Regions from separate parts of the Homo sapiens genome. Here regions 2, 3, 4 and 5 are each linked to region 1. Evidence: promoter capture Hi-C in human tissues and cell types (Jung and others, 2019). All regions are on one chromosome and are shown on one strand. The core of a region is centred on a gene start or on the middle of the fragment in contact, and the rest is flanking DNA. Distances in the headings are between cores, read along the strand shown.

Region 1 (2,719 bases), core at 81-2,580:
AAAGTAAGGCAGAGGCATTATCTCCACTACAGATTGAGAACACTAAAAGGCCAAGATAGGTGGGGCTTTTTGTTGTTGTTTTGCTAAGATCAAAAAGTAATTCTAGGGCAAAGCCAGATTCCGGTCTGACCTTGTTACATGATGCTTCTTGCAGCACCATAATACAATGTAGTTGCTTCCCTAGGTTTCTCTTTGGCTATGCTAGGTGTTGAATAATTTTCAGGGTCAATTTTTATTCTTCCCTGCTCCCTGAAAATGAGTGTTAAGATGTAGATAAGTACAAAAGAAAACTCTCCAATCCTTCCTACCTGGATTTGGAGTACAGGATAAACAGACAGAAATTGGCATCTTCCTCCCCTCCTCCAAGTTTTACTGCCTAGCCCAATGCTAATAGAAAAATAACCCGAGCCACAAATGCAAGTCCCATGTATAATTTTAAATTTTCTAGTAGTTACATTAAAATATATTGTATTTAGCCCAATACAGCGTATCCAAAATATTAACACTTCAACACGTAATCAATATAAAATTATTAATGAGATATTTTGCATTCTTTTTTTTGTATGGCTTCAAAATCTGGTGTGCATTTCTCACTTATAGCTCATTTCAATTTGTATTAGCCACATTTCAAATGCTCAGCAGCCACATGTGACGAGGGAGGACACTGTTGGACAGCACAGGTCTAGACCTCAGTAGCTCTCCCTTCAGATTAATGCCATGTGAATCGAATGGGTGGTATGAAGAATGGATGCTGAGTCCTTGGAGAATCCACTTGCACTTGGGTGGTGACTGATAAGAAGCCCTAGCTGTGCCATTTCCTGATACATGACTGTTTTTGAAGTTATGGACTCAGGATCTAGAAGACTGCAAATCCCCAAATACGTCTAACACCCAAGCTCACGCCAGGACCGTGCTTCCGGGCCTGTGTGAGAACCTAAGCTATGGAACCTGTCAACTTCTAGGGCTGCAGATTCGTTGGGCCCTCACATGTGGCCCGTGGAAAGGAGGCATCACTCGAGGAAGAGGAGGGCTTCTAGAGGGGCAAGGCCACCCAACTAGGGGCTTCTTGAGGGCAGGTGCTCCAAATGGCCGCTTCCTGAGGGCAGCGGGTCCTCTTGTGGCCTCAGGCAGGGCCCTGAAACCGGCCTCACGTGTTTGCAGCGCGAACTCCTGTGCTTCCACCAAGCGCTCTCGGGGATGCGGGGGTGGTGTCAGCGCCCCGGCCCCAGCCCGCACCCCGAAGTGGCTCCAAGGCTGCAGGTGTGAGGGGCGTGCCCAGGGCTCGGCCCGCGCCGCCCCATGTGACCCGGTCCGACATGGTGTCGCCTCCTCCCGGGGCGGCGGCGGTGGCGGCTCGGGCTGGGCTCCGCGTCGGGCCGGCCCCGCGGCCGCTCATGGGCAGCCAGGGCCGCTCGGGGCCCCCCGGGAACGGCGGGCCCGGCGAGGGCGAGGGCGGAGAGGCGAGGAAGCTGCAGGAAGGGAGGGTGGCGAGGGGGAAGCGAAGGAAGGGGAAGGGGAAGGGAAAAGCGAGAGCGGGGCAAGGCGGAAGAGGAAGCGGGGCGGAAGGGAAGCCCGGGCCGCAGACGGCGAAGGAGGCAGCCGGGCCGGGGGCTGACGCGGGAGCGAGGGCATGCCCAAGGGAGGAAGCAGAGGGAGGCAGAAGCGTGGAGGAAGGGGCGAGAGGCATCGTCAAGGGAGTCGAGGGGAGCGCAGGGGCCGGGAAGGAGGCACAAGGAAGAGAGTATGGGAAGAAGGAGGAATGGAGGGTCAGGGCTAGGCGGCGGGAGGGCGCCAGGCCGGGAAGAGCACAGGGACGAGGGGGTCAGGCTTGGGCCGACATCGCGGGGACAGGGGTGGCCATGGCGGCGGCGGCCGGGGAGGAGGAGGAGGAGGAGGAGGCGGCTCGGGAGTCGGCTGCCCGCCCGGCCGCGGGGCCTGCGCTCTGGCGCCTGCCGGAGGAGCTGCTGCTGCTCATCTGCTCCTACCTGGACATGCGGGCCCTCGGCCGCCTGGCCCAGGTGTGCCGCTGGCTGCGGCGCTTCACCAGCTGCGATCTGCTCTGGCGCCGGATAGCCCGGGCCTCGCTCAACTCCGGCTTCACGCGGCTCGGCACCGACCTGTAAGCGTCCGCTCGCCCGCCCGCTCCCCGCCCCGAGCCGGCCCCGCGTCCCGGGAAAGGGCGGGGCGCCGCGGCCTGGTCGGCCCAGGGTCGTGTCGCACCCCGAGTTTCTAGGCCTACACCTGACCTCCGCCTACACCCTTTCCCGAGCACTCTCGGGGACCCCTTTGCCCCTCCTCCCCAAGGCCTCCATCTGAGGCAGCCTCCCGAGAGCATCCCTCAGTAGGCACCCTCCCGGGTGGGCCGCTCCTCACAATTAGCCATCTTAGGCACTCCCTACAGCTTTCGATTGTGTGTTTTTGCAGAGGTTTAGCTGCCCCGGTTCCTTCGCCCCAGAGGAGCCAGTCTGGTACGGTGCTTTGGACGATTCCTTGAGTCCAGGTCTAGGACTCAGGTTCCTTAAGTGGTCTATCATAAATTTTTGTGGACTTTCATCTTTCATCCTCCCTACCCTTTTCTAAAGGTTGTTAAGCTTCAGGGCTCGGACCTTAAGAGAAGCCCTCGGTCCCAGTGTTCAGCCATAGTTTATGACTTCATATAGGCAGAGCGACACGAAAAAGGGGGCCTGCTTGAGGCAGGAGGCTGGAGTCTGTCCAGGAT
Region 2 (2,719 bases), core at 64-2,563, 490 kb after region 1:
ACCCCAAGAGAGGGTTTTTGGATCTTGCACAAGAAAGAATTTGAGGTGAATCCAGAAAGTGAAAGCAAGTTTATTAGGAAAGTAAAAGAATAAGAGAATGGTTACTCCATAGGCAGAGCAGCCCTGAGGGCTTCTGGTTTTTTTGTTTTATTTTTGAGACGAGTCTCGCTCTGTCGCCCAGGCTGGAGTGCAGTGGTGCGATCTTGGCTCACTGAAAACTCCATCTCTCGGGTTCAGCCATTCTCCTGCCTCAGCCTCCAGAGTAGCTGGGACTACAGGCGCCTGCCACCACGCCTGGCTATTTTTTTTGTATTTTTTTAGTAGAGATGGTGTTTCACCGTGTTAGCCAGGATGGGGGCTTCTGTTTTTTACGGTTATTTCTTGATTATATGCTAAACAAGTGGTGGATTATTCATGAGTCTTCCTGGAAAGGGATGGGCAATTCCTGGACCTGAGGGTTCCTCTCCTTTTTAGACCATATAGGGTAACTTCCAGACATTGCCATGGCATTTGTAAACTGTCATGGTGCTGGTGGGAGTGTCTTTTAGGATGCTAATGCATTATAATTAGCATGTAATGAGCAGTGAGGACAACTGGAGGTCACTCAGGATGATTCAGGAAATTGTATTTTACTCGAGTTGAAGGAGAACATTAGTGTTAGATTAGAGCGATGGGGAACCAGGTGTGGCAGCTCACACCTGCAATCCCAGCAGTTTGTGAGGCAGAGGTGGGAGGATGACTTGAGCCCAAGAGCTGGAGACCAGACTGGGCAACATGGTGAGACCTCTTCTCTACAAAAAATAAAAAATTAGCTTGGCATGATGGCACACACACACCTGTAGTCCCAGCTACCTGGGAGGCTGAGGTGGGAGGATGATTAGAGCCCAGGAAGTCAAGGCTGCAGTGAGCTGTGATGGTGCCACTGCACTCCAGCCTGGGCAACAAAGTGACATTCTGTCTCAAAAAAAAAAAAAAAAAAGTGCTGGGGAAGGGAACAGGGCTGTGCTGAATGTGTGAGGAGACACTACTCAGGTATGAAGAAGGCTTACTGTTTGTATTTTTTTTGTATTCATTTTAAATTCTGAATTATCCCTTTGTGTTAGTCTGTTCTTGTATTGATATAAAGAAATATCTGAGGCTGGGTAACTTATGAAGAAAAGACATTTAATTGTTCATGGTTCTGCAGGCTGTGCAAGAAGCATGGCACCAATATCTGCTCAGCTTCTGGTGAGGCCTCAGGAAGCTTCTAATCACGGCAGAAGGAGAATAGGAGGCTGGCCTATCACATGGTGAGAAAGTCAGTGGGGGACGGAGTGGGTGCCACACACACCCCTTTTTTTTTCTGAGACAGGGCTGTCCCCAGGCTGGAGTACAGTGGCACAGTCATACCTCACTGCAGTCTCCACCTTCCAGACTCAAGTGATCCTCCCCCATCAGCCTCCTGAGTAGCTGGGACCACAGGCTAACACCACCATGACCAGTAATTTTTTCATTTTTTACAGAGACGGAGTCTTGCCATGTTGCCCAGGCTGGTCTCAAACTCCTAGGCTCAAGTCATCCTCCTGCCTTGGCCTCCCAAAGTGCTGGGATTAAAAATGTGAGCCACTGTGCCTGGCCACCATACCCTTTTCAACAACCAGATCTCACGTGAACTCAGAGTGAGAACTCACTCATTATTGTGAGGACAGCACCAAGCTATTCATGAAGGATCCGCCCCCATGACCCAAACACCTCTCACCAGGCCCCACCTCCAACACTGGGGATTACATTTACTTACTTACTTTTATTCATTTACTTTTTGAGATGGAGTCTAGCTCTGTTGCGCAGGCTAAAGTGCAGTGGCACAATCTTGGCTCACTGCAACCTCTGCCTCCCGGGCTCAAGCAATTCTCCTGCCTCAACCTCCCAAGTAGCTGAGACTACAGGCGTGTGCCACTGTTAGGCCTCTGAGCCCAAGCCAAGCCGTGGCATCCCCCGTGACTTGCATGTATACGCCCAGATGGCCTGAAGTAACTGAAGAATCACAAAAGAAGTGAAAATACCCTGCCCTGCCTTAACTGATGACATTCCACCACAAAAATAAGTGAAAATGGCCGGTCCTTGCCTTAGGTGATGACATTACCTTGTGAAAGTCCTTTTCCTGGCTCATCCTGGCTCAAAAACTCCCCTACTGAGCATTTTGCGACCCCCACTCCTGCCCGCCAGAGAGCAAACCCCCTTTGACTGTAATTTTCCTTTACCTACCCAAATCTTATAAAACGGCCCCACCCCTGTCTCCCTTCGCTGACTCCCTTTTCAGACTCAGCCCGCCTGCACCCAGGTGATTAAAAGTTTTATTGCTCACACAAAGCCTGTTTGGTGGTCTCTTCACATGGGCGCGCATGAAAGCCACCATGCCTGGCTAATTTTTACATTTTTAGTAGATGGGATTTCACCATGTTGGCCAGGCTGGTCTTGAACTCCTGAGCTCAAGTGATCTGCCCGCCTCGGCCTCCCAAAGTGCTGGGATTACAGGCATGAGCCACCATGCCCGGCCTGGGGATTACATTTAAACATGAGATTTGAAAGGGACAAACACCCAAACACCTGTTCAATACAGGTAGTATATATATGTGCCTCTGCTTTAACAAGCCAGACATCCTTTCATTTTAGCATAGCAACATTGAATGGGAAACATCCCGTCTTTCCCACTTTTAGCCTTCAAGCTGCCTGTGCTCTG
Region 3 (2,719 bases), core at 142-2,641, 400 kb before region 1:
AGGACCAATTAGCTCCCATTTTATTTATCTTTATTTTTATTTATTTTTTATTATTTTATTTATTTATTTATTTATTTTGATTCAGAGTCTCACTCTGTCGCCCAGGCTGGGCTGCAGTGGCGCGATCTTGGCTCACTGCAAGCTCCACCTCCCAGGTTCACGCCATTCTCCTGCCTCAGCCTCCCGAGTAGCTGGGACTACAAGCGCCCACCACCACACCTGGCTAATTTTTCTTTGTATTTTTAGTAGAGACGGGGTTTCACCGTGTTAGCCAGGATGGTCTCAATCTCCTGACCTCATGATCCGCCTGCCTCGGCCTCCCAAAGTGCTGGGATTACAGGCGTGAGCCACCGCACCTGGCCGCTAGCCTGGCCTATTTTTTATTTTTATTTATATATTTTGTGAGACAGGGTCTCACTGTCACCCAGGCTGGAGTGCAATGATGCTATCATATCTCATCTCAGCCATGAACTCCTGGGTTCAAAGGATTCTCACGCCTCAGCCGTTCAAATAGCTAGGACTAAAGGCATGCACTACTACGCCCAGCTGTCTCCCATTTTATTTACCTAGGAGGAAACTAAGGAACAGAGAGGTCAAGCAGCTTGCCCAAGGTCACAGAGCCAGCAAGGATTTTGAATTTCATCCAAATGTAATGGGTTGTCACCAAAGGATCTAATGCAGGTCATGTTTAAGAGCTGGTCCCTGCCTTCCAGAAAAGAGAGAAAGGGCCGGGTGTGGTGGCTCACACCTGTACTCCCAGCACTTTCGGAGGCCGAGGCGGGTGGATCACCTGAGGTCAGGAGTTCAAGACCAGCCTGGCCAATGAAGTTTAGACTTAATTTTATAGAGAGTGGAAAACCACCAAAAGTTTTTCAACAGAGAAGTGACCTACTCAGATCTGTTATTTTTTAAATTTTTTTATTTTTTTTAAATAAGGTTAGTTTGATGTGGTGTGTAGAACTGGAGAGGGGAAACTAATTAGGAGGCTATGAGGTCCATGCTGCTAGTAATGTAGAAAACCCAAACCAAACCACACAAAAAGATCCTAACTTATAAAATAAAACAAATACAAGATTAAAGAATTAGTCCGGGTGTGGTGGCTCACGCCTGTAATCCCAGCACTTTGGGAGGCCGAGGTGGGTGGATCACCTGAGGTCAGCAGTTCAAAACCTGAGGTCAGGAGTTCAAGCCTGGCCAACATGGTGAAACCCTGTCTCTACTAAAAATACAAAAAAAAACTAGCCAGGTGTGGTAGCAGGTACCTGTAATCCCAGCTACGGGAGGCTGAGGCAGGAGAATTGCTTGACCTGGGAGGCTGAGGTTGTAGTAAGCTGAGATAGTGCCACTGCACTCCAGCCTGGGTGACAGAGAAGACTCCATCAAAAAAGAAAAAAAAAAAAAAAGAAAAACAAGATTAAAGAATTAAATGTAAGTAAATAAAGTTAGAAGAAAATGAGATTAAATAGTATTCATCAGCCTTGTAGGAATATGTGTGTGGGTGATAAACTTGCAAGCTTAAATACTATAGAAGAAATCAAAAAGGAAGAGAGTAAATTTTATCCCAATTAAAAAAAAAAAAAGGAAAGAATGACCAGTTTGACTACATACAAATTTACAACTTTGGTGTATATATGTATAAGTAAAAACGAAACCAAACCTCTAAAGAGAACAAACAAGAAAGCAATATGCTGAGAAATATATTTGCAGCAAATATGATAAAGAGTTAAAATGTTTTTGTATAAGTAGGGTGCAGTGTGGGACACCTGTAGTCCAAGCTACTGGGGAGGGTGAGGCAGGAGGATCCCTTTATAAAGCTTCGGAGTTTGAGGCCGGGCGCAGTGGCTCACACCTGTAATCCCAGCACTTTGGGAGGACGAGGCGGGCGGATCACAAGGTCAGAAGATCGAGACTATCCTAGCTAACACGGTGAAACCCCTTCTCTACTAAAAAATATAAAAAATTAGCCGGGCACGGTGGCGGGCGCCTGTAGTCCCAGCTACTCAGGAGGCTGAGGCAGGAGAATGGCATGAACCTGGGAGGCGGAGCTTGCAGTGAGCCAAGATTGCGCCACTGCACTCCAGCCTGGGTGAGAGCGAGACTCTATCTCAAAAAAAGAAAAAGAAAAAAAAGCTTCGGAGTTTGAGCCCAGCCTGGGCAGCATAGCAAGACTCTGATCCTAAAAATAAATAAATAAATAATTTTTGTATAATTAATTTATGCAAAATAGGTTTTGTTTTGTTTTTTAAAAGGCCCCTCAATAAATAAATGGGAGCCAGGCATGGTGGGTCATGCCTGTCGTCCCAGCCTTTTGAGGGGCTGAGGCAGGCGGATCACGTGAGGTCAGGAGTTCAAGACCAACCTGGCCAATATGATGAAACCCCGTCTCTAGTAAAAATAGAAAAAAATAGCTGGGCATGGTGGTACACACCTGTAATCCCAGCTACTCGGGAGGCTGAGGCAGGAGAATCGCTTGAACCCAGGAGGCAGAGGTTGCGGTGAGCTGAGATCACGTTACTGCACTCCAGCCTGGGCAACAGAGCGAGACTCCATCTCAACAATAACAACAAAAAATACAAAAATTAGCCGGACATGGTGGCAGGCGCTTGTAATCCCAGCTACTTGGGGGCTGAGACTGGAGATCGCTTGAACCCGGGACAGAGGTTGCAGTGAGCTGAGATTGTGCCACTGCACTTCAGCCTGAGCAACGGTGTGAGAATCT
Region 4 (2,719 bases), core at 120-2,619, 320 kb before region 1:
AATAGCATTCTAGCCACCAGTACAATCAATCTCATGACCAATGGGGTAAGTTGTAACCTTTCCAGAAAGGTACCGAGGCACAGAGAGGTTGGGTACCCAACTAAGCACAGAGAAAGTGAAGAAGTTGTTGGACTTAAGCAATAAAAGTGATAGAAAAGATACCATGTAGTAAATGTGTAGTTCTTCCTCACTTCAAGTAATGTGTTCCATTTTAATCATTTCATCCAAAAAGACAAAAGAGCCCCCAAAAAAGGTCTAGGGAAGAGCAATGGAAAACGTTAAGTGTACCTGCAATCAAATAAAGGCAGGACCCTAGTAGAGTGATACTGTGAAGACTCAAAGATTTTGTAATTCTGTCTTGTGGATGAAAAGTAGATTTCCTCCAGTTTTAAAAAGTGACCAGTACAACAGTGGTATAGTTTAAATAATTGGCCTCTGGTAAAATAGAAATTTTCACAACATAAGATCCTGGCTTTCTAGGCTGGCCAAGTCTCCTGAGATGAAGTGACTCAGATCCCAACTGTTTCCTAGAGCATGACATTTCTCAGAAATTAACACATTGTTTGTTATGTCTAATTAAGTTGTTCCTTTTCTCCCCACACTGCCTTTTTCCTAAAGAGCTTTCCTTTGAATGTGATAATAATGTAAAAGAGGAAAACACACAGCTACCTGTACCAATTATTAAGCCTTTAGCATGTACCAGGTATTGTGCTAAGGATTTGATGTGTCTTACTTCATTTAAGCCTTTTAGCAACCCCAGGAGAAAAAATACAGGTTGACCATTTCTTATCTGAAAATCTGAAATTCAAAATGCCCCCAAATCTGAAACTTTTTGAATACCAACATGACACTCAAAGGAAGTGCTCATTGGAGTATTTCAGATTTTTGGATTAGGGATGCTTAACAGCTAAGTGTAATGCACATATTCCAAAATGTTAAAAAAAAATCCAAAATCCTAAGTACTTCTATCCCAAATGTTTGTTTGATTGATTGATCGAGACAGGGTCTCACTCTGTTACCCAGGCTGGAGTGGAAGGACGTGATCACAGCTCACTGCAGCCTTGACCTCCTGGACTCAAGTGATCCTCACACTTCATCCTTCCGAGTAGCTGGGACTACAGGCGTGTGCCACTATGCCTGGCTAGCTTTTTAAATTTTTTGTAGAGATAGGGTTTTGCCATGTTGCCCAAGCTGGTCTTGAACTCCTGGGCTCAAGTGATCCTCCCACCTTGGCCTACCAAAGCGTTAGGATTACAGGCATGAGCCACCGTGCCCAGCCCTAAAGCATTTTAGATGAGATACTCAATCTATATCCTCATTTTACAGATGAGGAAATAGAAACTTAGCTTTATGTGCCTAATTCGTCACAATTAATAAGCAGAAGAACTAGAATGCAAACGTTTGCTTGGAAATCAGATGACCCCAATTAAAACCTAAAACAGGCTGGGTGCAGTGGCTCACGCCTGTATTCCCAGCACTTTGGGAGGCCGAGACAGGCGGACCACCTGAGGTCAGGAGTTTGAGACCAGCCTGACCAACATGGAGAAACCCTGTCTCTACTAAAAATACAAAATTAGCTGGGCGTGGTGGCACATGCCTGTAATCCCAGCTACTCAGGAGGCTGAGGCAGGAGAATCGCTTGAACCTGGGAGGCAGAGGTTGTGGTGAGCTGAGATCATGCCATTGCACTCCAGCCTGGGCAACAAGAGCAAAATTCCGTCTCAAAAAAAAAAAAAAAATCCCAAAACCTTAAACAGTCTACTTTTGGGTGACTAGAACCTTCAAAAATTATGCCAAGAAATAGTGGTCTGCTCTTTCTAGTGTTACTCTCATCATGGCAGCATATCTAAGTCAGCCGATTTTGCTTGATTTTCTTTTCCAAGGACCCACTTGCATGGGAGCTTCCTTGAGGTCTGTAGAATCAGCAGAATTTGACTGTTGGTTATAGGAAGAAATGTTGAGAGCCTTCCTTCTGTCAGATCAAGTAACAAATGGAGTGGGTTTTACCCCTTAAGTTGTGTTGCATTAAACCTTATAAACATTTGGGCTGTTAAGAAAGCAAAGCTGTCTCTTTCTCTGTTCCCAGTTGACGTGCGAAAGATGCCCTCAGAAGCTTGGTTAAATAGGTCTGTGTGGGGAATGAGCCTTTCAGTTGGGTTTTCAAGTTTCTTAGTTATGAGTTTTTTTGGTAGCTGTAGAAACTGCCAGTCTGAGAACTATTGTTCCTTGCCTCTCTTGGATTAGAATTGGTGCCTGATTTATATGAAATTTTTCCTCACATCCCATAGGTGTAAGGAGAGGTCATTGGTTCTCATCCCCCTTGTAGGAGATGATCCAGTTGCTTTATGAGTTTAAATATATGACCATTTATGCTGCCCAACTGAGATTGGGTCTGGAAAAACCCAAGAACTCTTCCAGTGCTCTAAGTGATGGGACAATCATTAAATTCCAGTGTCCTGACCAGATTGTTGTTTGGGTAATTACATCCTTTTTTTCAGTTCTCCCTGCAGTGTTATTTGGGTATCAGATCTCCATAAATGACCTCTCTGGCTGTTAAGCAGCTGCCACTTTCCACCCCAAGGTGGCTTTGCTTTACGGGTGGGTGAATCAGTCCTTGCATGTAGTTTGTGAAATGGTTAGGGAGCCTTTGGGATGAAAATATAAGTTAGCAACTTATAAATATGTGCCTTATGGCAAGAAGCTTTTATGTTCCCCAAAA
Region 5 (2,719 bases), core at 160-2,659, 300 kb before region 1:
AGCTAATTTTTTGTATTTTAGTAGAGATGGGGTTTCACCATGTTGGCCAGGATGGTCTCGATCTCCTGACCTTGTGATCCACCCGCCTCGGCCTCCCAAAGTGCTGGGATTACAGGCATGAGCCACCACGCGTGGCCCAGAATTTTGTATTTATCATTCCTTTGGTTTTGTTTGTTTGTTTGAGACAGAGTCTCACTCTGTCACCCAGGCTGGAGTGCAGTGGCATGATCTTCTCGGCTCACTGCAACCTCTGCCTTGTGGATTCAAGCGATTCTCTTGCCTCAGCCTCCTGAGTAGCTGGGATTACAGGTGCATGCCACCACGCCTGGCTGATTTTTGTATCTTTAGTAGAGAAGGGGTTTCACCATGTTGGCCAAGCTTGTCTCCAACTCCTGACCTCAGGTGATCATCCCACCTCAGCCTCCCAAAGTGCTGGGATTAGAGGTGTGAGCCACTGAGCCCAGCCCCTATTCCCTTGGGTTTTCCCCTGCTTTTAAAGCCTTTATTACTTGGGATTTTTCTGACTTTGGTGGTGTCACCTTAAAGAAGCTTCTGCTCAACCTTTATAATAGATACTAGGCAAAAAATTGTAAAAACCATGTATATCTATGCATAGACTTAAAGTTGATTCACCAAAGTCTTAACAGTTATAACATTTGGGTGGTATGATTAAATTTGATTTTCATTGTTTTGTGTGTATATGCTTTTTTAGAGTTTAAAAGACTGTCTATAATGAAATAAGCCTAGTTTTGTATTCATAAACACTTTAATTTTAAAATTAAAAAAAATTTTAAGTGGAGAGATAGCTGCAGGCTTTTCTGTGGGAGTTGCGTATCAGTTTGTGGGAGGATAGTGCCATAGAAACTGGCTAAAGGTGGGTAGAAGAGTTGTGAATCTAGTTTTCTGGAGGCAAGGGCATTACTCTTTGGCTATATCGGGGCTTTGATGAAGCTCCAGGGAGTGTCAGATAGGGATTGTCACCATTACTCTTTTTGCATTGCCTATCTCTGAGGAGATGTGAGTATATTTGTGGATTGTAATCCCCATTATGCCATCTAATTGTCAGGTTTTAATTGATAGATCCCATTTTTGAGAAAGAAGCAGGTCAATGTCAGGGTAAATAGTAATAGCTAACTTCTACAGCACTCTAATCCATTAAGAGGTCTTCTCTCTAGATTGGACTTCATTCTGGGTCCTGTTGAAGCTAATTTGAAAATCATGAGCCATTTGTCTGTTTTGGCTATGCTGGCATGATCCTCTTCTTACTTCCTTTTCACTCCTTCACCCACAGAGTTTCTGGAAAGTAACATAAGCTTGATGGGTTCTCGTACTTGGCAGTAATGGATTAGCTCTTTTTTGTCCTTTTGTGTGTGGGCTTAGAGCCCTGCTACTGAGGTTGTCTTCTTCTTTTTTAATAACTAGAATGTGAGTTGTGAGAGACCAGGGACCTTTGTCTGTTTTATTCAGTGCTATATCTCTAGTGCCTTGCACAGTGCCTGCCACATAGTAGTGCTAAGTAAATATTTGTTGAATGAGTAACTTTGACAGGAAGAAAAATGATCAAGAGTTCACAGCTTTCTAGGGCATAAGTATACAATTGCAAGGAGAAGCGTGGGCTGGACCCTAGTCTCCAGTTAATTTCTTTTTGATTTCATTGCCAGTTTGCTATGAGCAGTCATGAAATCTTTCTAGATTTTGTGGTAGGTGGTGCTTAGAGCTGGCAGATGAGAGGGTGGGTGGAAAAGGAAATGGACCTGACTATTCAAGTTCTATCAGCAAAGGGCTGATGTGAGAGTACTGGCCACTATTTGAGCCATGACAGTAGGAACCATTGTGAGTTAGATGGCTTTCAGGAAGGTGGTTAGCCATTTAACAGACTACCAGGATATTAAAAAAATAAATCTTCTGGGGGAATTCTTTTGCCTAGGAGGGAAGCAAGAATTACTATAGTAGTACCTTGATTTTCATTTATGGATTTTGTGGGAAGAGAAAGTGTGAATGTTTCCTTTTATGATATACGTCCTTGTTCTGTATTGAAACAGATGATGTAAATCTGGATGATTTACAGAGAAGAGTTTCTTTTTTCTTTACAGATGAACACAGGCTTCACAGTGGCAAACTCTGTCTGATTATCCTTACATGTATTGCAGAGGTAGGTCTCACGAGCCTTCTGCTATTAGGCAGTCTTTTACAAAGTGCTATCTTTCCCTGCCTCCCCTCACCCCATTACTGTCTCATGACATTTAGGGTCCTAAAGTTTAGGAGAGAAAATCTTCCCCCTTTGTATTATCTGTCTTCTCCCACTAGAGTGTAGTCTTCGATGAAGCCATGGATAGACAGGGTCTTGTCTGCTTCCACGCTGTTTAGCACTGTGTTTTTAAACTGTGGAGCAGTTTGTTTGTTTGTTTGTTTTGAGACGGAGTATCGCTCTGTTGCCCAGGCTGGAGTGCAGTGGCATGATCTTGGCTCACTGCAACCTCCACCTCCCAGGTTCAAGCGATCCTCGTGCCTCGGCCCCTCTAGTAGCTGGGATTACAGGCAGTGCCACCTTGCCCGGCTAATTTTTGTAATTTTAGTAGAGATGGGGTTTTGCCATGTTGGCCAGGCTGGTGTCAAACTCCTGACCTCAGGTGATCCACCCACCTCGGCCTCCCAAAGTGCTGGGATTACAGGCGTGAGCCACCATGCTCGGCAGTGGAGCAGTTTAAAAAATAAAAAA

The links. Contacts are between HindIII fragments. The study calls those that stand out against the background at their distance.
Region 2: a fragment that was not itself captured here is called in contact with the fragment with the promoter of FBXW4 in region 1 in 1 of the 25 tissues and cell types used here (lymphoblastoid cells).
Region 3: a contact is called between a fragment that was not itself captured here and the fragment with the promoter of FBXW4 in region 1, in 1 of the 25 tissues and cell types used here (adrenal gland).
Region 4: a fragment that was not itself captured here is called in contact with the fragment with the promoter of FBXW4 in region 1 in 1 of the 25 tissues and cell types used here (dorsolateral prefrontal cortex).
Region 5: a fragment that was not itself captured here is called in contact with the fragment with the promoter of FBXW4 in region 1 in 1 of the 25 tissues and cell types used here (bladder).

Annotation. Positions count from the first base shown.
Region 1 is chr10:101,693,781-101,696,499 of GRCh38, reverse strand. It overlaps FBXW4 (F-box and WD repeat domain containing 4), which reads left to right and starts at 1,330. Exons shown (of 9, transcript NM_022039.4): 1 at 1,330-2,119. The coding sequence starts at 1,395. RefSeq lists silencers at 1,161-1,440, 1,471-1,520, 1,801-2,260 and an enhancer at 2,571-2,650. The HindIII fragment of the contact is 7,927 bases long and covers 1-2,719 here.
Region 2 is chr10:101,200,669-101,203,387 of GRCh38, reverse strand. No RefSeq gene overlaps it. Among named protein-coding and RNA genes, the nearest start is that of LINC01514, 26 kb to the right of the region's middle. The HindIII fragment of the contact is 6,715 bases long and covers 1-2,719 here.
Region 3 is chr10:102,094,529-102,097,247 of GRCh38, reverse strand. No RefSeq gene overlaps it. Among named protein-coding and RNA genes, the nearest start is that of LDB1, 24 kb to the left of the region's middle. The HindIII fragment of the contact is 4,424 bases long and covers 1-2,719 here.
Region 4 is chr10:102,014,412-102,017,130 of GRCh38, reverse strand. The region is part of intron 8 of ARMH3 (armadillo like helical domain containing 3); the gene reads left to right. Among named protein-coding and RNA genes, the nearest start is that of ARMH3, 40 kb to the left of the region's middle. The HindIII fragment of the contact is 3,438 bases long and covers 1-2,719 here.
Region 5 is chr10:101,994,730-101,997,448 of GRCh38, reverse strand. It overlaps ARMH3 (armadillo like helical domain containing 3), which reads left to right. Exons shown (of 26, transcript NM_024541.3): 16 at 2,094-2,152. Among named protein-coding and RNA genes, the nearest start is that of ARMH3, 60 kb to the left of the region's middle. The HindIII fragment of the contact is 3,121 bases long and covers 1-2,719 here.